Regions from separate parts of the Homo sapiens genome. Here all the other regions are linked to region 4. Evidence: promoter capture Hi-C in 16 types of primary human blood cells and fetal thymus (Javierre and others, 2016). All regions are on one chromosome and are shown on one strand. Each heading gives the region's core, a stretch centred on a gene start or on the middle of the fragment in contact. The rest is flanking DNA. Distances are from core to core; before and after follow the strand shown. Region 1 overlaps MYH3 (myosin heavy chain 3). Region 2 overlaps MYHAS (myosin heavy chain gene cluster antisense RNA). Region 3 overlaps MYHAS (myosin heavy chain gene cluster antisense RNA). Region 4 holds the start of RCVRN (recoverin). Region 5 overlaps MYHAS (myosin heavy chain gene cluster antisense RNA).

Region 1 (4,804 bases), core at 2,228-4,727, 740 kb before region 4:
CTTGAAACAATCACTGTAGTTGCTTTGTTGACTAGATACGTTGAAGTGGGGGATGAGCATAGAATAAAAGGGATAAATAAAAGGAAATAAGGAAAACCCCAAACTGGAAGAAGAAGAAGGGAGAAGAGGAAGGACATATCTAATTTCAAACTGTAGGGGGTGCTGGGCACGGTGGCTCACGCCTGTAATCCCAGCACTTTGGGAGGCCGAGGCGGGCGGATCACGAGGTCAAGAGATCGAGACCATCCTGGCCAACATGGTGAAACCCCGTCTCTATTAAAAATACAGAAATTAGCCAGGTGTGGTGGCACGTGATTGTAGTCCCAGCTACTCAGGAGGCTGAGGCAGGAGAATCACTTGAACCCGGGAGGCAGAGGTTGCAGTGAGCCGAGATCACGCCACTGCACTCCAGCCTGGTGACAGAGCGAGACTCCGTCTCAAAAACATAACAAAACAAAACAAAACAAAACAAAAATTTTAGGGGGACTAGGCTCCTACTCAAATTACCCATAAGATGAATAGGAACTATTGGGCCATGGTAGAATCTGGTCTCCCCCTGAATCCCGCCCCATACAGGGCAAGTTCATCCGAATCCATTTTGGAACCACTGGGAAGCTGGCCTCTGCAGATATTGAAACTTGTAAGTAGATCCATGGGGATTCGATGGCGTCTCAGAGTTAACTGGGAACAGTTTGAAAGAGAGTCCTGTGTTTGTGTTCCAGATCTTCTGGAAAAATCAAGAGTCACTTTCCAGCTGAAGGCTGAAAGAAGCTACCACATCTTCTACCAGATTCTTTCTAACAAGAAGCCTGAGCTCATAGGTGAGGAAGTCACCAGTGGGGCTGGTCTTTTAGGTAGTTTGACTCTGATCACTAGACCAAGGAGAGTTGTATCTACGTAGAGTGACTCTACAGTCAACAGGGAAAGTTTATTTTATTTTATTTATTTATTTTGAGATAGGGTCTCACTCTGATGCCCAGGCTGGGGTGCAGTGGCACAAGCACAGCTCACTTGTAGTCTTGACCTTTCTGGGTTCAAGTAATCCTCCAGCCCCAGCCTCCCGAGTGGCTGCGACTACAGGTGCATGCCCCCACACCAGGCTACCTTTTGTGTTTTTTGTAGAGATGAGGTTTCACCATGTTGCCCAGGTTGGTCTTGAACTCCTGGGCTCAAGCAATTTGCCCGACTCGGCCTCCCACAGTGCTGGGATTATAGGTGTGAGCCACTGCACTTTGCCAGGAAAAGCTTATTTTAGAAATGGGATGTGGCTATCTGGGCAGTGACATGCCAATTTGAAAACCTAATCAAATGGAGGGCAACAAGATTAGACCACTCCTGACCAGCTCTGGTTTATAAAAACCTTCTGAGCAACTGAACACCTAACTGTCCTTTGGCGCCCCCTTGTGTTCTGGCACAGAAACAACCTATGGCCAAATGCGACGCCAAAGCAAACAGAATAATCAAGCCCACGGAGGCACTGCACACTGCCCCTTGTCTGCCCCTCACAGAGGTCTCCATGCACACTGCTTCTTTGCTCTTTGGCTGTATTTGCTCAGCCTTCTGGTCTCCAGCTTGGAAACAGGCTGCTGCTTTTCAACAGATTTTAGAAAAGGCTATGATTATACCAAACCACCTGGGTTGGCTCTCGTCCTGACCCGCACTCAGCCAGTTTTCCCTATTAACTTCTCCCAGCCGACACTGATATGCACCATTAGCGTGCAAGGCAAGGGAATTTAAAGGTTCTCTCTAGGGTCCTTCATCTCCATTGTGTGGGAGACTGAAAAGTCTTCCCTGGACTATATTTTCCATGACAGCCTGAGTATTGTGGAACTGTCTAAAAGATTTTTAATTCTAAGTTCAATTTAGGATCCAGCGGTAAAAGTTCCAGCCCAGGGTGCAGGAGCTCAAGTCCACTGGGTGGGTTTTTTCTTTGCATCTGCATAACCTCCTGGAACTATTTGTCATTTCAGAGCTGCTGCTTATTACGACCAACCCTTACGACTACCCGTTCATTAGCCAGGGGGAGATCCTGGTGGCCAGCATAGATGATGCAGAGGAGCTGCTGGCTACAGACGTAAGTGGAACCAACAGAAGGGGTGGGTGTTCCTCCTCCATCACTGGGGCCAACTGACTGACGTGCTGCCCTTTCCATGCCAGAGCGCCATTGACATCCTGGGCTTCACCCCAGAAGAGAAATCTGGGCTCTACAAGCTGACGGGAGCCGTGATGCACTACGGGAACATGAAGTTCAAGCAGAAGCAGCGAGAGGAGCAGGCCGAGCCGGATGGCACAGAAGGTACAAAATCAGTGTGACAGCAAACCAGAGCGGGTGGCTGATCTGCTGAGGTCACTTGGTACTGCTTTTGAAAGCAATTAATCCAGCCAGGCACAGTGGCTCACACCTGTAATCCCAGCACTTTGGGAGGCTGAGGGGGCCAGATCACCTGAGGTCAGGAGTTCGAGACCAGCATGGCCAACATGGTGAAACCCCATCTCTACTAAAAAAAATTAGCTGGGCATGGTGGAGCATGCCTATAATCCCAGCTACTCAGGAGGCTGAGGCACGAGAGTCAGACAGAGTTTTGCTCTGTCATCCAGGCTAGAGTGCAGTGGCATGATCTCAGCTCACTGCAACCTCTGCTGCCTGGGTTCAAGTGATTCTCCTGCCTCAGCCTCCCGAGTAGCTGGGATTACAGGCACACACCACCGCGCCTGGCTAACTTTTTTGTATTTTTAGTAGAAACGGGGTTTCACCATGTTGGCCAGGCTCAAACTCCTGACCTCAAATGATTCGCCTGCCTTGGCATCCCAAAGTGCTGTGATTACGGGTGTGAGCCACTGTGCCCTGCCGGCATGAGAGTTTCTTGAACCCAGGAGGCAGAGGTTGCAGTGCACTGAGATCGTGCCACTGCACTCCAGCCTGGGCAACACAGTAAGACTGTCTCAAAAAAAAAAAAATGGATGGAAGCGATTAATCCTTCCATCTGGAGAAGTGAATGACCCTTTCTGGGCCTCCGATGCCCATAGCTATTGTTACCACTCGCTTTTCCTGAATCACTCGAATAGTCTTGTTTCAGATGCAGTGAGGGATGACCAGGGCTTTCTGAGACCCAGCCCTGGCTTTTCATAAAGTCCATTATATTCTCTGAGTGACTTAGCTTCCATTGGCCATGTATATGCAGTTTAGCCACAGGGAATGCACAATGTACCAAGATGAACTTAACCAACCTTTGAAACTTCTGGATGATTTTCAAAGCAGCTCTTCTACTTTTCTAAGCACTGTCCTTGTTTTCTTGCCAGTGGCTGACAAAACAGCCTATCTGATGGGCCTGAACTCTTCGGACCTCCTAAAAGCTTTGTGCTTTCCTAGAGTGAAAGTTGGGAATGAGTACGTTACCAAAGGTCAAACTGTGGATCAGGTAACAGCTTCAAGGCCGGGAAAGGGTGCAGGACCCTGCTGGCCACTTCCTTCATATCCAGTAGCTGATCTTTCCCCTGATAGGTTCACCATGCTGTGAATGCTCTTTCAAAATCAGTTTATGAAAAGTTGTTCTTGTGGATGGTCACTCGCATTAACCAGCAACTGGATACGAAGCTTCCAAGACAACACTTCATTGGTGTTTTGGACATTGCAGGCTTTGAAATCTTTGAGGTTTGTGTTACTTATATTCATATTTTCATATGGCTTCATATGAGGGAAATTGGTTTCATGATCCTAAAGGGAAGATAGCAAGATGGCGGCTGTCTTAGTTTCCTGTAAGAAACTAGATGGAGAGTGGATGGAATAGAGGAGCGGTACTTATTGGAAGGGTTTGTATTAGGGTTTTTTGTTTGTTTTTTTTTTTTGAGACTGAGTTTCACCCTGTCACTCAGGCCAGAATGCAGTGGCGCCATCTCGGCTCACTGCAACCTCTTCCTGAGTTCAAGTGAACCTCCTGCCTCAGCCTCCTGAATAGCTGGGATTACAGGCGTGTGCCACCATGCCTGGCTAATTTTTGTATTTTTAGTAGAGATGGGGTTTCACCATGTTGGCTAGGCTGGTCTCGAACTCCTGACCTCAAGTGATCCATCCGCCTCGGCCTCCGAAAGTGTTGGGATTACAGGCATGAGCCACCGCACCTGGCTGGGTTTGTATTATTTTAAAAGAGGAGAAGATGTCTATCAAGTGGAATTTTAAAGGACATTTTCAAATGGATAAAAGAAAAAAAATTAAATGCAATCACTGATTTAGGGACTGCCATCAAATAGATACAGAGAATTTGATAAGTTAATCACGCACTATTTTCTATAAATATCCCACTGGTTCTGTGTTAGACCGTGCATAGCCGCGGCTGGGCATGGTGCCTCATGCCTGTAATCCCAGCACTTTGGGAGGCTGAGGCAGGCAGATCGCAAGGTCAAGAGATCAAGACCATCCTGGCCAACATGGTGAAACCCCGTCTCTACTAAAAATACAAAAATTAGATGGGTGTGGTGGCGTGCGCCTGTAGTTCCAGCCACTCTGGAGGCTGAGGCAGGAGAATCATTTGAACCTGGGAGGCGGAGGTTGCAGTGAGCCGAGATGGTGCCATTGCACTCCAGCCTGGTGACAGAGCAAGACTCCGTCTCAAAAAAAAAAGAAAAAAAAAAGTGCATAGCCACTCATCAAAGTGTATATTTAGGTTTCCCAGGTACAAGACATACAGGTGAAAAAAACAGATGAGCTTGTAGTCTAGTAGAGAAGAAATAGAAGTCTATATGGCACATTGAAGAGTAACTACAAAATAAAGTACACAAGAGATGCCCAGACCTTGGGAACTCAGGA
Region 2 (5,090 bases), core at 997-3,496, 670 kb before region 4:
TTATATCATACTCAATAAAGAGTTTTTCTTCTAAAAAATGCTATCTTCATATAAAGATAGCAGAGAAGTGGCAATCACTGTGGATATGTTTTACTAACAGTTTATCTGGTTAAAATTCTGTAATGGTTGCTGCTTGAAACCAAAAAAGGGTCAGTTCAGGGACCCAATCTTATAACCTCAAAGTGCATTTTTATATGCCTGTGCATAGTGAACAATAAAATCCTTTTAGCAATAATTAAACAGATAGGTTTAGCTCTCAAGTAGCTTGAGGCTATAGCTGTGGCTTGACCTCACAGAAAAAACTGCTCTGTAACCACAGCAATCCCCAAGAGACACTGCCTTGAGTAACCAGGTGTGCCCGTTCATCTATCAGGCAGTTCAAGTTCAGGATACCAGAGCCAGTTGCCACAATCTAGTTACCAAGCCACACACCCACTGTCTCTCTCTGTCTAAATCCTTTCTCTTCCCCTCCTCCTCCAGGACGTCTCTAATGAGTTCTAGACTTCAACTCACCCCATCCCCACTTTTCTGCCCTCAAACACACACATATACTCTCTATCTAAAACAAACATTAAAAGCTTACCTCCTTTCAATGGCTTCTCCCCTTGTCTTTGTCAAATGCTTCCCTCTGCACCAGCCAATCCCTCTTCCCCCTTCTCAATACCCTCAGATTTCTGTTTGGGCATCTATACAGTCCCAAGGAAGGTGACTTTCCTCTTGTTACCTCCAGGGATGGATGGGGCATATGGCCTAAGCTACGGTCTTCAGTTTTGTTTTCCCTGCTCATGTACACCTAAAAGTATAAGTTACAGGGCAGAGCTGAGAGGCCAAAAGGATCTGAGCTCTTGATAGTATCACTGAGCTTCCAGATCAAGCCTTGCCTTATGCTAGTCTTCTCTCTGATCCTTCCAGATACATTAGCTGACACATTTAATGTTTTAGCTTCTTTGAGTTGGAATTCCTGGTGCTTTTAACAAAAACATAGCAATTGAAACATTTTAATACGTTTATTTTCTTTTATTTTTTTAGACTGAGTTTCACTCTTGTTGCCCAGGCTGGAGTGCAATGGTACGATCTCTGCTCACTGAAATCTCTGCCTCCTGGGTTCAAGCGATTCTCCTGCCTCAGCCTCCCGAGTAGCTGGGATTACAGGCATGTGCCACCACACCCAGCTAATTTTGTATTTTTAGTAGAGACGGGGTTTCTCCATGTTGGTCAGGCTGGTCTTGAACTCCTGACCTCAGGTGATCCGCCCACCTCGGCCTCCCAAAGTCCTGGGATTACAGGAGTGAGCCACCGCGCCCCACCATAAATTTCTCATACAAATAGTCCATGCCACTGGCTCCATTCCCTTATCACTTCCTCTTGACCTATCTAAAATCAGCTTAGCTAAGGGGTAAAGATACGAACCAATTGCCTCTCTATGGGCCCATAGCCTTTTATTTTTTTTCTTTTCTTTTTTTTTTTTTTCTGAGATGGAGTTTCACTCTGTCACCCAGGCTGGAGTGTAGTGGTGCAATTTCAGCTCACTGCAACCTCCGCCTCCCAGGTTCAAGTGATTCTCCTGCCTCAGCCTCCTGAGTAGCTGGGATTACAGGCGCACACCACCACACCAAGCTGATTTTTGTATTTTTAGTAGAGATGGGGTTCCATCATGTTGGTCAGGCTGGTCTCCTGACCTCATGTGATCCGCCTGCCTTGGCCTCCCAAAGTGTTGGGATTACTGGCGTGAGCCACTGAGCCCGGCCGTTTTTGTTTTTTTTTTTGTTTTTTTTTTGAGACAGGGTCCCACTCTGTTGCCCAGGCTGGAGTGCCATAGTCTTTTTTACAGTGGCATTTATATCACTTTGTCATGTGTTGTCTAGGTCCACCATCCCTTATCTACAATTCTGAAATCCAAAATGCTTTGAAAAGACAAAATCTTTTTTTTTTAAGAAAATAAGTTTTCCCTTTCACAACAAAACTTGACTGAAAGTGGTGTAGAGATATTTATCTCTCTTTATCCCACTTAGTGTGAGTATTTATGTGCAGAGATTCTTTCACTGCAGAAATATGAAGTTGTTTGATTCTGAGGTCCTCTCCCAGATCCTGCTGGGGATACTAGGGAGTATAGATCCACAACTCCAAATCCACAACCTTTGGGGCCAGGTGCATTTGGAACTCAGTATTTTAATAACTTTTGGAAAGTTTTACAGTGCACATCACATATATTACCCTGTTGGGAGTATGACATAATATTCAGTAGTTCTTTAGGGAGAAACTGCCTGCAAAGCAGGAAGAACATTCAAAACTTCTGGCAGAACAGTGGGAATCCACTGATAACATTACAGAAACAGATATCTGGTAGTCAAAGAAAATTCCTTCATTGATACAGCATTAGTCTACACTGTCTCTGAAAAAGAAATTGATATCTATGTGATACTGTAATGGTGGATGTATGACATTAGTCAAAATCCATAGAATGACCAACACAGAGTGAACTCTAATGTAAGCTATGGACTGTTAAATGTAGACATATCGTATTGGGTAGTATATTGGATCAGATAACTTCAAAGATACCATCTAGCCTGTCCATGATTCCTCTCTGTAAGCCCCCCACTCCTTTAGAATATCTCAGAGTTGGCTAGGCACGGTGGCTCAAGCCTGTAATCCCAGCACTTTGGGAGGCCTAGGTGGATGGATCACAAGGTCAGGAGATCGAGACCATCCTGGCAAACACAGTGAAACCCCGTCTCTACTAAAAATACAAAAAATTAGCTGGGCGTGGTGGCAGGCGCCTGTAGTCCCAGCTACTCAGGAGGCTGAGGCAGGAGAATGGCGTGAACCTGGGAGGCAGAGCTTGCAGTGAGCCAAGATCACGCCACTACATTCCAGCCTGGACGACACAGTGAGACTCCGTCTCAAAAAAAAAAAAGAAAAAAAAAGAATATCTCAGAGTCATCTCATATCTGTAAGCCCTGCCCACACATTCAATCGAAACTCACACATGCCTCTAATCGCCAGCGTGAACTCTTCTCCCACAGTCTACACTATACTTCCAGATTTGCTTCTCTAACCTACGGCGTTCTTCTCCCTCCTTTTTCCTCAAGACCTTCAGTGACTTCTATTGCTTACTAAGCCAAGGCCAGAGAGTTCCCCTGGGCATTTAAGGTCTTACTGAATTCAACAGGTATTCCTTTACCCATGCAAACTTTTAGATCACTCTTCCTCCACAAGGACCCTCTATTAAGAGAAAATACCTAAGAGAATATTTGTCAAAGGGGCCCTGACCCCTTTTCCTCTCACACCTCTCCACCATTTACCATTGACTGATTTGAAATGTGTCCCTTTAGGTTCTTTTTGTCATTAGCACAGTCACTCAATTCTTATGCATTAATCTTCTCTTAGCTCCTCCGAATTGCTCTACCCTTTCAAAAACTTTTTGGTTCTAATCTAACATTTCTCTCATGATCATCGTACTTAATCTAATTAGTGCTCTCTGAGCTTTTAAACATCATTTTCCAAAGGGGAATCCTTGGTGAATTATACTCCCTCTGAGTATCTGATCTGTATAAGAAACTCTAAATTTGCGTTCCACACATTTAACAGTGCATATTATCAGATTCATCAGTAGGAAAAATTAATTGTCTCATTGTTTTTAATAGAAGATCAGGAAGAGAAGGGATCATTTTCTTGACGTATAAAAGCACCATTCAATCGTGAACAATTTAGCTAAAAGAAAAGAATTAACTTGTATTTGAAATATGTCATTTTCTGTCATTCCTGGAACATAGAGAGGGGACTAGTTCTCTGAGATCAAAACTCAGAATGCCATTTTTCTTGATGTTGGTCTATTTTATCTTTCATCTTTGTTACCTACATGTTTTGTTTGCTTTTTGTCAAAGCACATGCCAATAGACTAATATGAAGCTTCAGGCTACTGCAGTGTCTCATCTAAGCATAAACCTAAGATTTCAAAGAGGAATCAACATCCCTCTAGTCTTTAGTTTTTTTTGTTTGTTTTTGTTTTTTTTGTTTGTTTGTTTGCTTGAGACAAGGTCTTGCTCTATCAACCAGTCTGGAGTGCAGTGGTGTAATCATGGCTCAATGCAGCCTTGAACTGCTAGGCTCAAGCAGTACTCCTGCCTCAGCCTCCCGAGTAGCTAGGACTTCAGACATGAGCCATCATGTCTGACTCTTTTTTTTTTTTTTTTTTTTTTGTAGAAATAGGGTCTTGCTTTGTTGCCCAGGTTGGTCTCAAATTCTTGGCCTCCAGTGATCCTCCTGCCCTGGCTTGCCAAAGCGCTAGGATTACAGGTGTTAGCCACCATGCCCAGTCCCCAGTCTGTGATTCTATTTATTTTGATTGCCAAAAATAAGCCAGAGGAAAATTACTGTGAAATTTCTTTTAAAGGTCAATCCATTTCTTGAATGACTTGCTACAGAAGAAGACTTCAGGATTATTCACATCCAATAGCCTCAAGAGAAAAAGAACTTTTCTATAAAATAGCCTGGTCCTTCAGCAATTATCACCGAAACTTTTCCAAGCAAATAAAACCAATGTATTAAGAATTTTGACAATATTGAAGGAAGATCTGACAATGATATACATTGACACAATTAGACGTAAAGTAATGACTTCTTAGATGGGATGGTTAATTTTATGGGTCAACTTGGCCAGGCCCCAGTACCCAGTTTTGGGTCAAGCACCAGTCTAGACATTGTTGTGAAGGGATTTTTATTTTTATTTTTTGAGACAGGGTCTTGCTCTGTTACCCAGTCTGGAGTGCACTGGTGCAATCATAGCTCACTGCAACCTCAACTTCTTAGGCTCAAGTGATCCTCCTGCCTCAGCCTCCCAAGTAACTGGGACCACAGGCATGTGCACCATGCCTGGGGCTAAAATTTTTTATTTTGTAAAGACGGGGTCTCACTATGTTGCCCAGGCTGGTCTCTAACTCCTAGGCTCAAGCTATCCTCCCACCTTTGCCTCCCAAAGCGCTGGAATTATAGGCAGCAGCCCCCATGCCGGGCCAAAGAGATTTTTTAAGGATGCGATTAATATTTAAATCAGTAGACTTCAAGTAAAGCAGATTACTCTCTATTATGTG
Region 3 (4,802 bases), core at 676-3,175, 690 kb before region 4:
GCCAGTGTGGCTGGGAGCAATAGTTTATGGGAGAAAGCAATGAGAGATGAACCTGTAAAGAGAGGTTGGACCAGCTCATGAAGGGGCAGGCTTCAATGCCAGCTGCAGAAATTATTATTCCAGATGGGAAAAGACTCAAGAATATCCAGTTGCATCCCTACTGAATAAAATCCATGGTGTTTTTTTTTAAAGGAATGACCATCCAAATTTCTCAGATAACATATAATATTTAGACCTGTCTTTTCCTACTTAGAATGTAAGTGCATCCATGGGAGGCTAGAGAAAGGAGAAATAAATCCACCTGTAGTCAACTTGTCCAGAGCTCTCTCAAACCTGCTACAGGGTGAGCAGCAATGAGGTCCTGGGTGGGCACAGAGAGATGAGGTCGACAGTGTGTGCAAGGCATCCATGGAAATGGCAGGCACATCACATTTAATCAGACTTACTACCTAAGAACCATAAATCTATTGGCAGCTCTGGGACTTAATAAAAAGTAGATTACCAAGGAGTTTCACTTTTATGAGAACTGGCTTTGCCATTTAAGACAGTTTAAAGTAGACGAAAATAAGGCAAATAAAAACCTTTGTTCTGCCACCATTTTGGAATAACAGAATATCGATTAAAAATCTAACAGTGGAAAGATAATCTTTTCTTGCTATTTTCTTCTTCTTTTAATATATAAGCCAAGTGGAAAACACTGAAAAGGGTCTGTGTGCATGGGGAGAATGACACTGCAGAACTTAAAAACAGAACCTGATGATGCCTAAGAGCACATGTGTAACACTTGAAGCTTCCTTGACATAGATCAGCTTCTGTTTGCAGCTCAGCAAACCATATGCTATATTCACTCACTCCTCAAGGATCATCTGCTCCTTTCCAAGTATTAAGATGTCAGCGAAAATCTACCTTCTGGTGAAATTTAATCTGCAGGAGAAGAGCTGCTGATGCTCATAAAAATAGCTGTCAGATGTTATGACTCCTCTGAGACACATACGACAAAGAAGGGGTCATGGAGCCCAGGACAGAAGAGTAAAACCACTTAGAACCCTTGAAGGCTGAGCAGCCCAGAAGCTCTCAACCTGGGGTCAGGAAGCCCTAAGGGGTCTATGAATGGGCTTCAGGTTATCTAGAAATTCCTTCAAATTGAACAAACATATTGTGCCTTTGTGGGGGAGGGGAAACTTTTGTCAGATTCTCAGAGCTTCATGACCAAAAATTATTAAGTATACCATAATATATCATCAATCTAGTATATTATTTCCACAGAAATTTTTTTCACACCCCAAAATTATTTTTTATTGCTCAAAAAATTCTTGGATAATAATCTTAGCAGAAATTTTAAAATTATAGATAAGGCTGAAGTCTCTTTGTCCACACCTCCATTCCGGATGTTTCCCCCACCACATTTCACGTAGACCATAAATTGTATTTGATCCATGTGTGTGCAACTTGCCTTTGCATTTCACAAGGTCTTGGGGGCAGTTCTACACGTGCACATGTAGAGCCACCTCATCCTTGTCACTTGCTGCTTGGACTCTATAGTAAGGCTGGCCTCAGTATACTCAGGCATTCCTCTAGTGATGGACACTTGGGCTGTTTCCCACTGCAAAAACAGCATGATGCATATGAATATCTTTTATTCATCATTTTATGCACTAGTACAAGTGTGTGCGTGCATGTGGTTTTTGTTTGTTTTGCTGTTGTTTTTGAGATAGCATCTTACTCTGTGGTCTAGGTTGGAGTGCAATGGCACAATCTCGGCTCACTGCAACCACTGCCTGCCGAGTTCAAGCAATTCTCCCACTTCAGCATCCCAAGTAGCTGGGACTATAGGTGCGTGCCACCACACTTGGCTAATTTCTGTATTTTTTGGTAGAGACAGGGTTTCACCATGTTGGCCAGGCTGATCTGGAACTCCTGACCTCAAGTGATCTGCCCGCCTCAATCTCCCAAAGTCTTGGGATTATGGGTGGTATAAGTGTTTCTTTAGCAGGGAGGCCAAGGAGGGAATTGCCTGGTCCTGGGATATACATATGTGTAATCTGTAATTCAACTGACAAATTCTCTCTAAGGTTGTTATAGTGGTGGTGGTTTACCCCTCCACTAGTCGTATATAAAATGTTTTCCTGTCTCCTACTGTCACACTGGATATTATCGATCATTTCAAGTTTTGCCAGTCTGAAAGATTAAAAAGTGTATCTCATTGTTACTTTTTTTTTTTTTTGAGACAGAGTCTCACTCTGTCGCCTAAGATGGAGTACAGTGGCAAGACCTCAGCTCACTGCAACCTCCACCTCCCAGGTTCAAGCGATTCTCCTGCCTCAGCCTCCTGAGTAGCTGGGATTACAGGCATGCACCACCATGCCTGGCTAATTTTTTTTTTTTTTTTTTTTTTGAGATGGAGTCTCCCTCTGTTGCCCAGGCTGGAGTGCAGTGGTGCTATCTCAGCTCACTGCAAGCTCTGCCTCCCAGGTTCAAACCATTCTCCTGCCTCAGCCTCCCAAGTAGCTGAGACTACAGGAGCCCGCCACCATGCCTGGCTAATTTTTTGTATTTTTAGTAGAGATGGGGTTTCACCATGTTGGTCAGGCTGGTCTCGAACTCCCGACCTCAGGTGATCCACATGCCTCGGCCTCCCAAAGTGCTGGGATTACAGGCATGAGCCACCGCACTGGCCCTCATTGTTACTTTCCATTGTATTTCCCTAAAAGTGGTTGAACATCTTTGCATATGTTTATTGGCTATTTGTTTTTCCTTTTCAATGAATTGCCTGTTCTGAGAGCAGTGGTTCTCAAACCTTACTGTACAACAAAATCATCCAGAGAGTTTAAGATAGAGTTTCTGGGCCCCACCTTCAGGGTTTCTGATTCAGTGAGTCTTGGGTGAAGTGCATGAGTTTTCATTTCTATTATGTTCCCAAGTGATACTAATGCTGGTGGTCCAAGAACCAGACTTAAAAACCACTGAACTAAAGAAACCACTTGATCCGTGTACCTCTCTGTGGTTTTAGCTCAGTGGTTCTCAACCCTGGTTGCACATTAGAATCACCTGGAAAGCTTTATAATGGTACTGGTACCTGAGTCCCACCCAAAACTAATTATGTCCAATGCCCTTCCCGTCCATAGTTTGTTTGTTTGTTTGTTTGTTTTTGAGATGGAGTCTCACTCTGTCACCCAGGCTGGAGTGCAATAGCACAATCTCGGCTCACTGCAACCTCTGCCTCCCGGATCCAAGTGATTCTCCTGCCTCAGCCTCCCAAGTAGCTAGGATTATAGGCATCCACCACCATGCCCGGCTAATTTTGTATTTTTAGTAGAGACAGGATTTCACCATGTGGCCAGGCTGGTCTCGAACTCCTGACCTCCGGTAATCCCCCTGCCTCAGCCTTCCAAAGCCTTCCATAGTTTTTTAAGCTCCCCAGGTGGAACCAATGTTCAGCTAGGACTGAGAACTATCACTAGCTGATACTAGTTGCCTTGAAGGAGGGCAAAGTTCTTCGTTCTGTTTCCTCCTCCCTTGCAGCATATCATAGATGTACAATGCTTGGCTGGGGCCATCTCAAAACATTCTTGCCCTGTATTTTACCCAGAGGTGTAATCCTGTGAATTTACAGCAAATAACTTATATTTGTTCAAAATGTTTATTATGTGTTCTGTTTGGGGACAACCCAACATGATAGGCCTTTAGACCTGGCCTCTTATCCCGATTCTGCAATTACCAGCTGCATAACACATATGCTAGTGACTAAACTTCCATTTGTTCACCTATAAAATGGAATTCATTAAAGCTACCTGATAGGCTCATGTAAATAAAATGAGGTATACTAGGTGCTACAGACAGTGTGTAGCCCAGCAGGAATTCAACAAATCGACACTTGGATCCCTTCCCATTTTGTGACTCGTTTGAGATAAAAATCTGGTTTCTGGATCGCCTCCTCACAAATGGCACAATTCTACTTTCGCTCATTTTGAAGAGCAATTGCATGTCTTTTTCAGGTCTCCAACCAACATCTTCATACTACTCTTAAAACTTAATTACCTAGGCAGCTTCACTTTTACCTAACTGGACAGGAATACACTTAGAAAGACAGGCTGCAGGCTGGGCATGATGGGCTCATACATGTAATCCCAGCACTTTGGGAGGCCAAAGCGGGCAGATCACAAGGTCAGGAGTTCGAGACCAGCCTGGCCAATATGGGGAAACCCTGTCTCTACTAAAAATACAAAAATTAGCCAGGTGTGGTGGTGGGCACCGGTAGTCCCAGCTACTCAGGAGGCTGAGGCAGGAGAATCGCTTGAACCCAGGAGGCGGAGATTGCAGTGAGCTGAGATTGTGCCACTGCACTCCAGCCTGGGCAACAGAGTGAGACTCCATCTCCAAAAAAAAACTGTGGTATGGAATGATAAAGGATAATTAATCAACATTATTGAGTTTCTATTACATGCAAGGCTCTGAAGGAGTTCCAAGAAGGACACCAATCCCATCCTCAATAACTTGTAATGAATTTAGGGAGACTCAAAACTTAAACACAACCAACAAAGTCAGTTGGCTACAATGGTAAGTTATAACAAACTCTAATGAGTTCCAGCAAGCCGAAGAGAAAGGTCCCTTAGAGTGGGATGGTCAGGAAAATATTTAAAGATTTTGAAGAAAAAGCAGAATGTTGCTAGGTAGAGAGAAGAAAGGTGTTTCTGTTGAGACATGTGAAGTAATCAACACCAAAGTAACTGAGTTACTGAGTACTTTGCAGGGCAAGGGGTAATCCAGAGGGATAACCAGATACACTCATGAAGCGGGTGGTG
Region 4 (5,627 bases), core at 867-3,366:
TGAACCTCTCGGTCCTTCCAGAGTGACATGAGGTGGGCCTGGCAGGTGGCTTTCTCCCAGCAGCAGGGACCTACCTTCTGCTGCCACTAGCCTGTTAGTAAGTAGGCTAAAATCCCCACTTTACACTTTGAGATGCAAGGCGGGCGGATCACCTGAGGTCAGGAGTTTACGAGACCAGCCTGACCAATATGGTGAAACCTCGACTCTACTAAAAATACCAAAAAAAAATTAGCTGGGCGTGGTGGCAGACACCTGTAGTCCCAGCTTCTCAGGGGACTGAGACAGGAGAATTGCTTGAAACCAGGAGGCGGAGGTTGCAGTGAGCCAAGATCGTGCCCAGCCTAAGTGACAGAGGGAGACTCCGTCTAAAAAAAAACCAGTTTACCTGCCTGGAGACCGTGGGGTTTATTCTTCATCATTCTCACCCCAGGGCAAAAAGAGACAACTCTCCATCCACGGTGGCAAGGCTGGGGTTCTGAGTGTGTCCCCTCGAGCACTGCGCTCCGCTAAGGAAAGTGCACGCCCACCCTCCCTTCCTTCTGGGTGACAAGAATCCAGGTGTGCAGCGTCCTCACTAGGTTGCTTCCTCGTGCTTGATACTCCCCGCTGAGCTGCACAGACGCGAAGCCTGCCTTTGCACAGCTCCGTCTCTGACCACTCAGTTATTTATCCATTCACTCAGCAAACACGTTTTCTTGCCTGCTCACTCCAAGTCCACTGCAGACGGACACCCTGCAGCCTGCCATGGACCCACAGATAGATTGTGTTTGGCCCACACCATGTTTTGTTTTGTTTTTGTTTTTGTTTTTGTTTTGTTTTTTTGAGATGGAGTCTCACACTTGTCACCCAGGCTGGAGTGCAATGGTGCAATCTCGGCTCACTGCAACCTCTGCCTCCCGGGTTCAAGCGATTCTCCAGCCTCAGCCTCCCAAGTAGCTGGGATTACAGTCACCTGCCACCATGCCCGGCTAATTTTTTGTATTTTTAGTAGAGACAGGGTTTCACCATGTTGGCCAGGCTGGTCTCGAACTCCTAACCTTGTAATCTCCCCACTCAGTCTCCCAAAGTGCTGGGATTACAGACGTGAGCCACCATTAAAATTTTGAATTAATTGCCAAAGTTGAAAAGTGTGGAAATTGCAAGAAAAATTCTGATTTTTGGATTTCTCTTGAATAATTTAAAAAAACCCAAAAATCTCACCATCCCATGTGACCACGTTCTCTGGCAGCCCCTTCCCGAGGTGACACAGGCCTGGCTGCCCCCTGCTGGTCCCTTCAGGCAGTTCACCTTCACTCCCTGTGACTGATGGACAATAACAAAACGAGTGTTTAGCATTAGCCATGTGCCAGTTTCTAAGTGTGTCAGACATATTGACTCACATCAGCCTCACAATGACAGTGTGGTAGATGCTATGATGCCCATTTATTCAAGAAAGACTTGCTGGGGGCCCAAGCCTATCAGGTTCTGGCAATGGAAATGCATCCGGGAACAACACAGACAAAATCCCATCCTTCACGGAGCTTTCATTCCGGTGAGGGGACATGCAGCGTGCCGATGATGGTGGGGGTTGTGCTATTATAGATAGAGGGTCAGTATAGGCCTGGCTGAGCAGGTGACATTTAAGCAGAGACATGACTGCAGTGAAGGTTTAGAAGAGTGTCCCAGGTGGAAAGAGGTGAAGAAACAAGCCTGGGGCCACACAGCTAGTTAAGTAGCCAAGCTGGGACTTGAACCCATGCTGGCCCCAGAGTCTGTGCTCCTAACCATTGCATTCTAGGGCTTGATATGAGATGCCAGCCCCGCCCCGAGATGCTCAGAGTTAGTGAGGAAGAGAAACAGGGAACATGGCTGCTGTTAGAGGGCTGGGGCTGGGGGTGCCGGAGGCCCCAGCTCTGAGGGTTCCAACCTCCTGTCCTGTTCTAGTATCGTCCCGGGAGGCCGAGATGAATTGCCTGCCTGCCCTGGGCTCTTTATTTTAATCTCACTAGGGTTCTGGGAGCACCCCCCCCCACCGCTCCCGCCCTCCACAAAGCTCCTGGGCCCCTCCTCCCTTCAAGGATTGCGAAGAACTGGTCGCAAATCCTCCTAAGCCACCAGCATCTCGGTCTTCAGCTCACACCAGCCTTGAGCCCAGCCTGCGGCCAGGGGACCACGCACGTCCCACCCACCCAGCGACTCCCCAGCCGCTGCCCACTCTTCCTCACTCATGGGGAACAGCAAAAGTGGGGCCCTGTCCAAGGAGATCCTGGAGGAGCTGCAGCTGAACACCAAGTTCTCGGAGGAGGAGCTGTGCTCCTGGTACCAGTCCTTCCTGAAGGACTGTCCCACCGGCCGCATCACCCAGCAGCAGTTCCAGAGCATCTACGCCAAGTTCTTCCCCGACACCGACCCCAAGGCCTACGCCCAGCATGTGTTCCGCAGCTTCGATTCCAACCTCGACGGCACCCTGGACTTCAAGGAGTACGTCATCGCCCTGCACATGACCACCGCGGGCAAGACCAACCAGAAGCTGGAGTGGGCCTTCTCCCTCTACGACGTGGACGGTAACGGGACCATCAGCAAGAATGAAGTGCTGGAGATCGTCATGGTCAGTCTCCCCTCTCCCCTTCTGGCTGGGCGGTGCCGGGGTCGCTCCGGGCTGGGGGTCCCCTGCTGCAGCTGCTGCAGAGGGAGTGGATCTGTGGGTGGAGCGGGGGATGCGGGCCACTGGCTCTGAGAGCGTGGTGCTCCGAGATGCTGATATTGATAGAGGGGTGGGCACTTGCCCACAGCTTCGTTGTCTTCCCGGAGCAGAATCTGAGTGTTTCCTAATACAGCCATGTTATGCTTGGCTTCACGATGTTTGGGTCAACAACGGACGATATAGACCACTGTGGTCCCATAAGATTGTAATGGAGCTGAAAAATTCCTACTGCCTAGTGACGTCATAGCACAGTTACTTTATTTTTCAAATGCATTTAGTGTAGCCTAAGTGTATCCGTAAAGTCTGTAGTTGTGTACGGTAATGTCCTAGTTCTTCACATTCACTCACTACTCACTCACTGACTCACCCAGAGCAACTCCCAGTCCTGCAAGCTCCACTCATGGTGAGTGCCCTAGACAGGTCTACCATTTTGTATCTTGGTTTTTTATTTTTTATTTTTTTGAGATGGAGTCTCACTCTGTAGCCCAGAGCTGGAGTGCAATAGTGCGATCTTGGCTCACTGCAACCTCTGCCTCCCGAGTTCAAGCAATTCTCCTGTCTCAGCCTCCCGAGTAGCTGGGATTACAGGTGTGCACCACTATGCCTAGCTAATTTTTGTATTTTTAGTAGAGACGGGGTTTCACCATGTTGGTCAGGCTGGTCTCAAACTCCCGACCTCCAGCGATCCGCCAGCCTCAGCCTCCCAAAGTGCTGGGATTTACAGGCATGAGCCACTGTGCCCGGCCCATTTTTTATCTTTATACTGTATTTTTACTGCATGATTTCTATGTTTAGCTATGTTTAGATGCACAAATACTTACCATCGTGTGACAACTGCCTGCAACATTCAGGACAGTCACGTGCTGCACAGGTTTGTAGCCTAGGAGCAAAAGGCTGGACCATGGAGCTCAGGGATGTAGTCGGCTCTACCATCTGTGTTCGTGCAAGGATGCTCTATGATGTTCCCACATAGAAGTTGCCTTAAGATGTGTTTCTCGGAATGTATTCCTGTCTCTGAGCGACACGTGACTATATTTACATTTTTTCTTTCTCTCCATCCTTTGTTTCTTCCTTCCTTTATTAAAATGTCCTTTGAAATTTTCAGCAGTACACATTCAAGTTGAATCACTGTTCATTCTAAACACACAATATGCTTCTAATATAAAGTAGAAAGAGGTCAAAGTTGGGGGCATGAACTCTGAGTTCTAGTCCTCATGTTCTCCCCAGCGCGGGGCGGATCATGGCACCACGCATGAGCCCCCGCTTCCCACGCGCGGCGTGGCTCCCCGGCTCCTGACAGTTTCCCTGTGAGGCGCACAGGCTTCCATATGGTTCCCAACACGCCTTCTCCCCTGTCCATACTGTCCTCCTGTCAGATCCTTTGTTGTGAAAGTAATGGCAAAAACCATAATTACTTTTCCACTAACCTCGTAGGTGTCTTGAAAATGGTTTATCTGATATAAAAGTAACTCATGAAATTTAGAAACCTAGGCAAAAGAGACTAACAATTGCCTCTAATTCCAACATCCAGGGAAAACTTTTCTTAGTATATCAGTATATACCTTTTCAGTCTTTTACCTATATAATTTTAAATAATGTTAAAGCTATGACATATTCACATACGATTTTTTATCATACATTTTTCAGTTACTCTTTTATCATGAGTGCTTTCCATATCATTACATATTCTTCCAAAACACTTTTTTTTTTTCTTCAGACAGAGTTTTGCTCTTGTCGCCCAGGCTGGAGTGCAGTGGCGTGATCTCAGCTCACTGCAACCTCCCCCTCCTGGGTTTGAGCAATTCTCCTGCCTCAGCCTCACGAGTAGCTGGGATTACAGGCACCTGCCCAGCTAATTTTTGTATTTTAGTAGAGACGGGGTTTCACCATGTTGGCCAGGCTGGTCTCGAACTCCTGACCTCAGGTGATCTGCCCGCCTCGGCCTCCCAAAGTGCTGGGATTACAGGCGTGAGCTTCCGCACCCAACCTCTTCCAAAACTCTTTTAATAGCTGCTTGGAATTCTGGCTTATGGAAATGTGGAAATTATTGAACATTCCTATGTTTTTGGACATTAGGTTGTTTCCATTTCTTTCCTATTATACCAGTTCTAATTTCCTTCATTTGATTTTTTTTTAATTTATTCTTTTTCAGTCCCCCTGCCCCTGCCACTTACCTTATTCTTCTAATTCCATTCCTGTTAGTAGAGACTATTGTTTAGATGTTAATAACTTTGTGTGCATTGGCAATCATGCTTTCATTTGCATGATGACAAATGCACAAAAATCTTCCACAGTTATTAGGAGAAATCATAAATAAAACAGCAGAGCATGCAGCTTGTGGTCCATGGGCTTATCCTCAATGCTCAGCTCGGGCCTCCCATTCTGGCAGGCATGTGTCTCTCTCATTGTTATCTTGGCACAGCCTGCAGAGAAAGCTCCCTCGGATTGGCTGTGGGGTCTCTGGGTGGCCTGGGACAGGGACTAAGTCTTCAGAGTGGCATAAACAATGCAGGGCCCAGCAGAAGCCTACAAATTGATACTCATTGAATAAAAGGAGGAGGAAAGGGAGGAGGGGGAAATGAGGGAGGGAGAGAGGGAAGGTAGGAGTCAGGAAGGAAAGAGGGGGAAGCAAGGGGAAGGAGAGAAGGAAGGGAGGGAGGAGAAGGAAAGGAGGAGAGAAAGGAAGAAAGAAGAAAGGAAAGGGAGGGAGGGAGACTCCATCAATGGCTGGGGCTGTGCAAGGTGGCAGAAGGCTCTGCTATTCACCAGATTACAAGTTCATGGGCAGAGCACTGACTGAGGGAGTTAAAAGTGAAGGGTTCTAGTCCCAGCTCTGACTCCAACTAGCAGTGTTGCTGTGGGAAAACCATATAACCTTCCTGGGCCCAGGGTGAGGATTTGATTATTTTTGCAGTCTTTCCTGAGGCTCTGGAGGTCTGTCCCT
Region 5 (4,882 bases), core at 2,209-4,708, 720 kb before region 4:
TGGGCAGCTGTTCATGTAAGCACTGTGCTATCAAAAATACATAAATGAATAAAAAAGAGGCTGGCCCCTTCAAGCGCTCAGTCTAAATCTACTACTGTTATCTTAGATCAGTGTGCACTATTTCAAAGCTGCACAACAGAAAATCCCACCCCTGACCCAAGATAACCTTGTCTTTACCTTAAGAGGGAAGGAAGGCAGGAAGTCAAATAACTATCTGGTTGACTTGCTACTAGAAAGAGCATCTTCTAGCCTGGGATCCTTTGTTTATTGTCATCAGTAAATTTATTAGCAATAGCTGCCAAGTTCCCTTCTTTGTCTGATTCCAGAAGATTAGGGGACCTAGTTTGACTCAGGTGAGAATGAAAGGCCAAGGGGTGTTCTCTCCAGATGTGGGGGAACTCAACAAATCATTTAGCTTTTTCAATAAATAAATTGCAAAGAAAAAATATAAAACAAATACAAGGGAGACCTGTAGATTAAAAGATACTTAGTGGACCTATCCGCCAATTGCACTGTGTGGACCTTGTTAGGATACTGCTTTGTACAAACACGCTGTTAAAAAATAGACACACACACACACACACACACACACACACACGGTCCAATTGGTAAATTTGACTATTGACTGGATATTGATGGTGACATGAGATTATTGTTCATTTCACGGTATAATGTGATTTTGTGATTATGCTTTCTAAGATAGTCCTTATCTTTTAAAAATACATGGTAAAGGCTGGACGCAGTGACTCACGCCTGTAATCCCGGCACTTTGGGAGGCCGAGGCGGGCAGATCACGAGGTCAAGAGATCAAGACCATCCTGGCCAACATGGTGAAACCCCGTCTCTACTAAAAATACAAAAATTAGCTGGGTGTGGTGGTGCCCTCCTGTAGTTCCAGCTACTCGGGAGGCTGAGGCAGGAGAATCGCTTGAACCCAGGAGGCGGAGGTTGCAGTGAGCCAAGATCACACCACTGCACTCCGGCCTGGAGACAGAGCAAGACTCTGTCTCAAAAAGAAAAAAAAAAGGTGGTAAAATATGTACATACCAGAAAGGAAGAGTAAGCGAGAGATCGTTGAAGTAAACTTATTTTACAGAACTTATGACTTAAAGAATTAATAAAAGAGGCCCCTGATGCATTTTATGCAGAACTGGAGTGCCTCTGCACTTGAAAATACCTGGGGCCGTGGAACCCCCTGTGTCCACTTATTGGCAAAGTGTGACATTTCCCACAAAGGAGAAGGTGCGGAGTTTGGTGCTGGAAGTGACCTGTGACTATTTCTATTAGGCTCTGATTTTGTGAAGGATATAAATGAAAAGATTCATTTTCTAAGAGTGAATATTATGACCAAAGTCACCCATGTTCATTTATTCCATAAAAAAAGGATGCCCACGACTATAGAAAATGTAAGCTGTGTTATTAAGAAGCAAAAAATGAAAGCACCAATTCCATTCCAAATCAGGAGCTGCCGTGCCACACGAGCCAGAGAGGGGGTCTCCTCCGACCATGGAGAGGAGGAGGATGAGATCAGCCACTATTTACTGAACTCCACCCATGTGCACTTGGCATGCACTCTCTCGTGCCCTCAGCATACAGACTTGGCGATGAGGAGATGGACCTTATCACCCACTTTACAGATGAAAAGACGAAACTCAGTGATTTGTTCAAGGTCAAAATGGCAGAGCTGGATTCTCTCTAGATCCTAAGACTCCTTTACCCTACAAAGTACTAACCTTCTACCGGGGCAGCCGGCCACATAGACAGGCGAAATCCCTCAAAAGAGCTGGCGCACAGGGTAAAGCTGTGTTGAAACTGGGCTGATAGAACCCAAAGCGTGCTTCGTGTTTTCTTTTTGATGATCGACTGTTTCTGTTAGCGTCCTCCAGGTGTTTCTCTATAACCCTCCTCTTGTCCACCACCTCAGCCCACCCCATCCTCAGAGAGCCTCTCTTAAGATAGGACCTTTGACCATTCAGTAGGAACTTGGGTGACTTTAGCTCATTTGCAATATCCACTGGCTCTTTCGTACATGGGCTCCAGAACAGGGTGGCAAAAGAATGAAGGGCGCCTTCTCTTCAGGCTCACTTTTTTGGGTGAGCCTCTCCAAATTAAGGACCATTTCTTATTATATTTTTTATTTTTATTGAGAAGGAGTCTCACTCTGTCACCCAGGCTGGAGCGCAGTGGTGCGATCTTGGCTCAGTGCAACTTTTGCCACCCGGTTTCAAGCAATTCTCATGCCTCAGCCTCCCAGGTAGCTGGGACTACAGGCACACGCCACCATGCCTGGCTAATTTTTTTGTATTTTTAGTAGAGACGGGGTTTTACCATGTTGGCCAGAATGATCTCGAACTTCTGACCTTAGGTGATCCACCCGCCTCGGCCTCCCAAGGTGCTGGGATTACAGGTATGAGCCACCACACTCAGCCATTAAGGGCCATTTCTAATTACTTTTCCTTTTCATAAATAGCCTTGTTTTTTCTCTTTTATTCTTTTTTTCTGGTGTTGGGACATGGAATTTATTAACCTTCTCCTTGTAATCCTCATACTATCCAGAAACCTCTGGCTTTCTGAAATTTTTATTGAGTCTTAAATCTCTTAGCAGTGGATTTGTATTTTTTATTACCTTTTATAATTTTTTAATTACACAAGAAATACATGGCCAAGCACAAGATTAAAAAAAAAAATCTGTCAACTATAAAAGGACTGCCAGCAAGGAGGGTAGACTCTTTCTTTATTTGGAACGGCTGAGATCTCGATTTATGATTGGCAGATGGCCCGCTTCTTAAGGACATGTGAGGGACACAGTTTCTAATAGGAGTAACATGTCCTTATGGGGGAAAACTGGTTGCAGTTTGCAGTCCACCACCAGCTGGTGAGGGCGGCCTTTCATTTCTCCACGCCTGGATCACCCGACAGCTGAGAGCTTTAATAAAACAAGTGTGCCTAGGAATGTGGGGTGAGCGAGCCACCCAGAACACAGATGTCTATTTACACCCCTACCAATAATCCCGGTGCTAAAAACAACAGCAGCTGGGAGGTTCTGAGGCTGCCTGCTGGATCTGAGCGGCGATCCGGTTACCCTCAGCAATGCTGAGACATTCTGGAGGCGCTCATGCCCCAACTGCTGTCCATCCGGAGCCAGGGGATGGCACAGATTATTTTTATCTCAGATGTTTCATGCTTTCCATGGCAGTGAGGAGCAAGAACTCCCAACTCCTGGGCTTTGATGAGTCTTCTTTGTGTGACATTAAACTGGACATGGCCCTTGTTCAAAAGTCCTGGGGAGATTTAGGAGGGGGACGATAGACACCCTTAGGTGGCCTTCATGGGGAAGCCTGGCGCGAACTTGCTGAGAGAAGGGGCAGCTTAGGTAAAGCATATGGAGAGGTGTCATTGACATAGGACTCCTTAGTGACTCAGGGATATGGAGACAAGATGAGGTGAAGCCTCACACCTCAAGGACAGTAAAGGAAATATAACTTTCCAAATAATAATGATGAAAGAACAAAACCAAACCAAGCCCATAGGGGTCCTGTGTGATAGAAGATGGTGACAAGGTGACACCCTTTTATAGTCAGAGAACAAAAGAAAGCCCATCTCTTGGATTGAGTTCCTAGCAGGAAAAGTCAAGTGTTGGAGCAATCTGTGTGGCCTTGGGGAAAACAATTCTTTCTCTGTTGACTTTCTGTCTCCGCATTTCGGTAATAAAGAGAGAATGATAAGGCAGAAGTGGTTCTTTTTTTTTTTTTTTTTTTGTGAGCAATCCTGGCCATGAACTTGGTTTTCTTGGCCTGGGGAGTGGGCATGGCTGTTTGCAATTCACACTGCTCAGAAGCCCGAAGAGAGGATCGAGCGTCCTGGCAAAGGCCCGGTGGGGAGGGGTGCTGCCACGCGAAGCCAGAACACCCTTAGCAAAAAGCCCAGGGCCAGCCAGAGCTTCCTGCTCCAAACTTTGCTGCTAGAAATTTCAGATCTGTGTTTCCTTGTACATGTATTCATTCATCTGTCATTTACCAACTGCCTATGCCATGCCCAGGAACAGGTGATGGGAGGAGCAGAGATACCCAAGAAAGACTGGGGAGAGGGAGCGAGGAAAGAGCTCACGTCTTAAAGCCCTAAGGCTCCAAATGAGGATGGGAGGAGGGGATGGAGGGAGACATATTTCCAAACATGGCCCAGTCTCAGCTCCAGGAGGGCAAGACGAGCATCCATAGCAGCTGTGCCTATTTTGGGCCTGGGATCTCTGTCCCAAGAGCAACAGGTGTTGAGACCTGAAGGACAGGTGGGCGTTTATTTTGAGGGCCTCCTGGCATCATTTCCAGAAACAGAGACCAGCTTTTCAATTCATTATCTCCAGCTACAATCATAAAATGTCTTCCTTTACTGCTTCCTAGTGGCCCACCAGCCTGTGGCTCTCGGAGCCTGCCTCATCACACAGGCGCACCCAGGGGGACTTGCAGGTTTCTGGGAAGGGGAGAGGTTTGGGCTATGTGCCCCTCTCTGGACTGGTGAGGGGTAAAGTGCACATTCTCCTCACAACCACATCCCACTCCTGAGAAGGCCACAGAGGAGAGAGTCAAGTCAGGAAGGAAGGACGACAACGAGGCGGATACAAGCTGGCCCTCTCTTGCCACCTCACCCCAAGGTGGGTACTCCCAGCATCTGCCTGTGCTGACGATGGAAGGACAACAGCAGCCACTTGCAGAGAATGCTATCTAAATATGAGTATAATTTCCAGCACCATCCCACGGGGCAGGCAGAGGCCGCGAGCATTCAGACGTGATGTTCCTTGCTGAAAAGTAGATTAAAAGGACATGAATTTTTACCTTTTTAAGTGACTTGCTTTCAGCCCCACAGTAAATCCCGGCTGTGTCCCGGT

The links. The method cuts DNA at HindIII sites, captures the fragments that hold promoters and counts their contacts. A CHiCAGO score of 5 or more calls a contact.
Region 1: a fragment that was not itself captured here is called in contact with the fragment with the promoter of RCVRN in region 4 in 2 of 17 cell types (naive B cells and M1 macrophages); the score reaches 5.5 in naive B cells.
Region 2: a contact is called between a fragment that was not itself captured here and the fragment with the promoter of RCVRN in region 4, in 1 of 17 cell types (naive B cells). The highest score is 5.1, in naive B cells.
Region 3: a contact is called between a fragment that was not itself captured here and the fragment with the promoter of RCVRN in region 4, in 4 of 17 cell types (total B cells, naive B cells, monocytes and 1 more). The highest score is 7.8, in total B cells.
Region 5: a fragment that was not itself captured here is called in contact with the fragment with the promoter of RCVRN in region 4 in 6 of 17 cell types (monocytes, M0 macrophages, naive B cells and 3 more); the score reaches 13.7 in monocytes.

What each region holds. Positions count from the first base shown.
Region 1 is chr17:10,643,199-10,648,002 of GRCh38, reverse strand. It overlaps MYH3 (myosin heavy chain 3), which reads left to right. Exons shown (of 41, transcript NM_002470.4): 9 at 577-640; 10 at 723-821; 11 at 1,971-2,074; 12 at 2,158-2,296; 13 at 3,301-3,419; 14 at 3,503-3,652. Among named protein-coding and RNA genes, the nearest start is that of MYH3, 12 kb to the left of the region's middle. The HindIII fragment of the contact is 241 bases long and covers 3,357-3,597 here.
Region 2 is chr17:10,574,727-10,579,816 of GRCh38, reverse strand. The region is part of intron 3 of MYHAS (myosin heavy chain gene cluster antisense RNA); the gene reads right to left. Among named protein-coding and RNA genes, the nearest start is that of MYH2, 28 kb to the right of the region's middle. The HindIII fragment of the contact is 3,331 bases long and covers 581-3,911 here.
Region 3 is chr17:10,594,874-10,599,675 of GRCh38, reverse strand. It overlaps MYHAS (myosin heavy chain gene cluster antisense RNA), which reads right to left. Exons shown (of 11, transcript NR_125367.1): 6 at 1,454-1,603. Among named protein-coding and RNA genes, the nearest start is that of MYH2, 48 kb to the right of the region's middle. The HindIII fragment of the contact is 2,266 bases long and covers 793-3,058 here.
Region 4 is chr17:9,901,760-9,907,386 of GRCh38, reverse strand. RCVRN (recoverin) reads left to right here and starts at 2,116. Exons shown (of 3, transcript NM_002903.3): 1 at 2,116-2,587. The coding sequence starts at 2,207. The HindIII fragment of the contact is 11,305 bases long and covers 1-5,627 here.
Region 5 is chr17:10,623,264-10,628,145 of GRCh38, reverse strand. MYHAS (myosin heavy chain gene cluster antisense RNA) reads right to left here. Exons shown (of 11, transcript NR_125367.1): 11 at 2,606-4,882. Among named protein-coding and RNA genes, the nearest start is that of MYH3, 32 kb to the left of the region's middle. The HindIII fragment of the contact is 7,509 bases long and covers 1-4,882 here.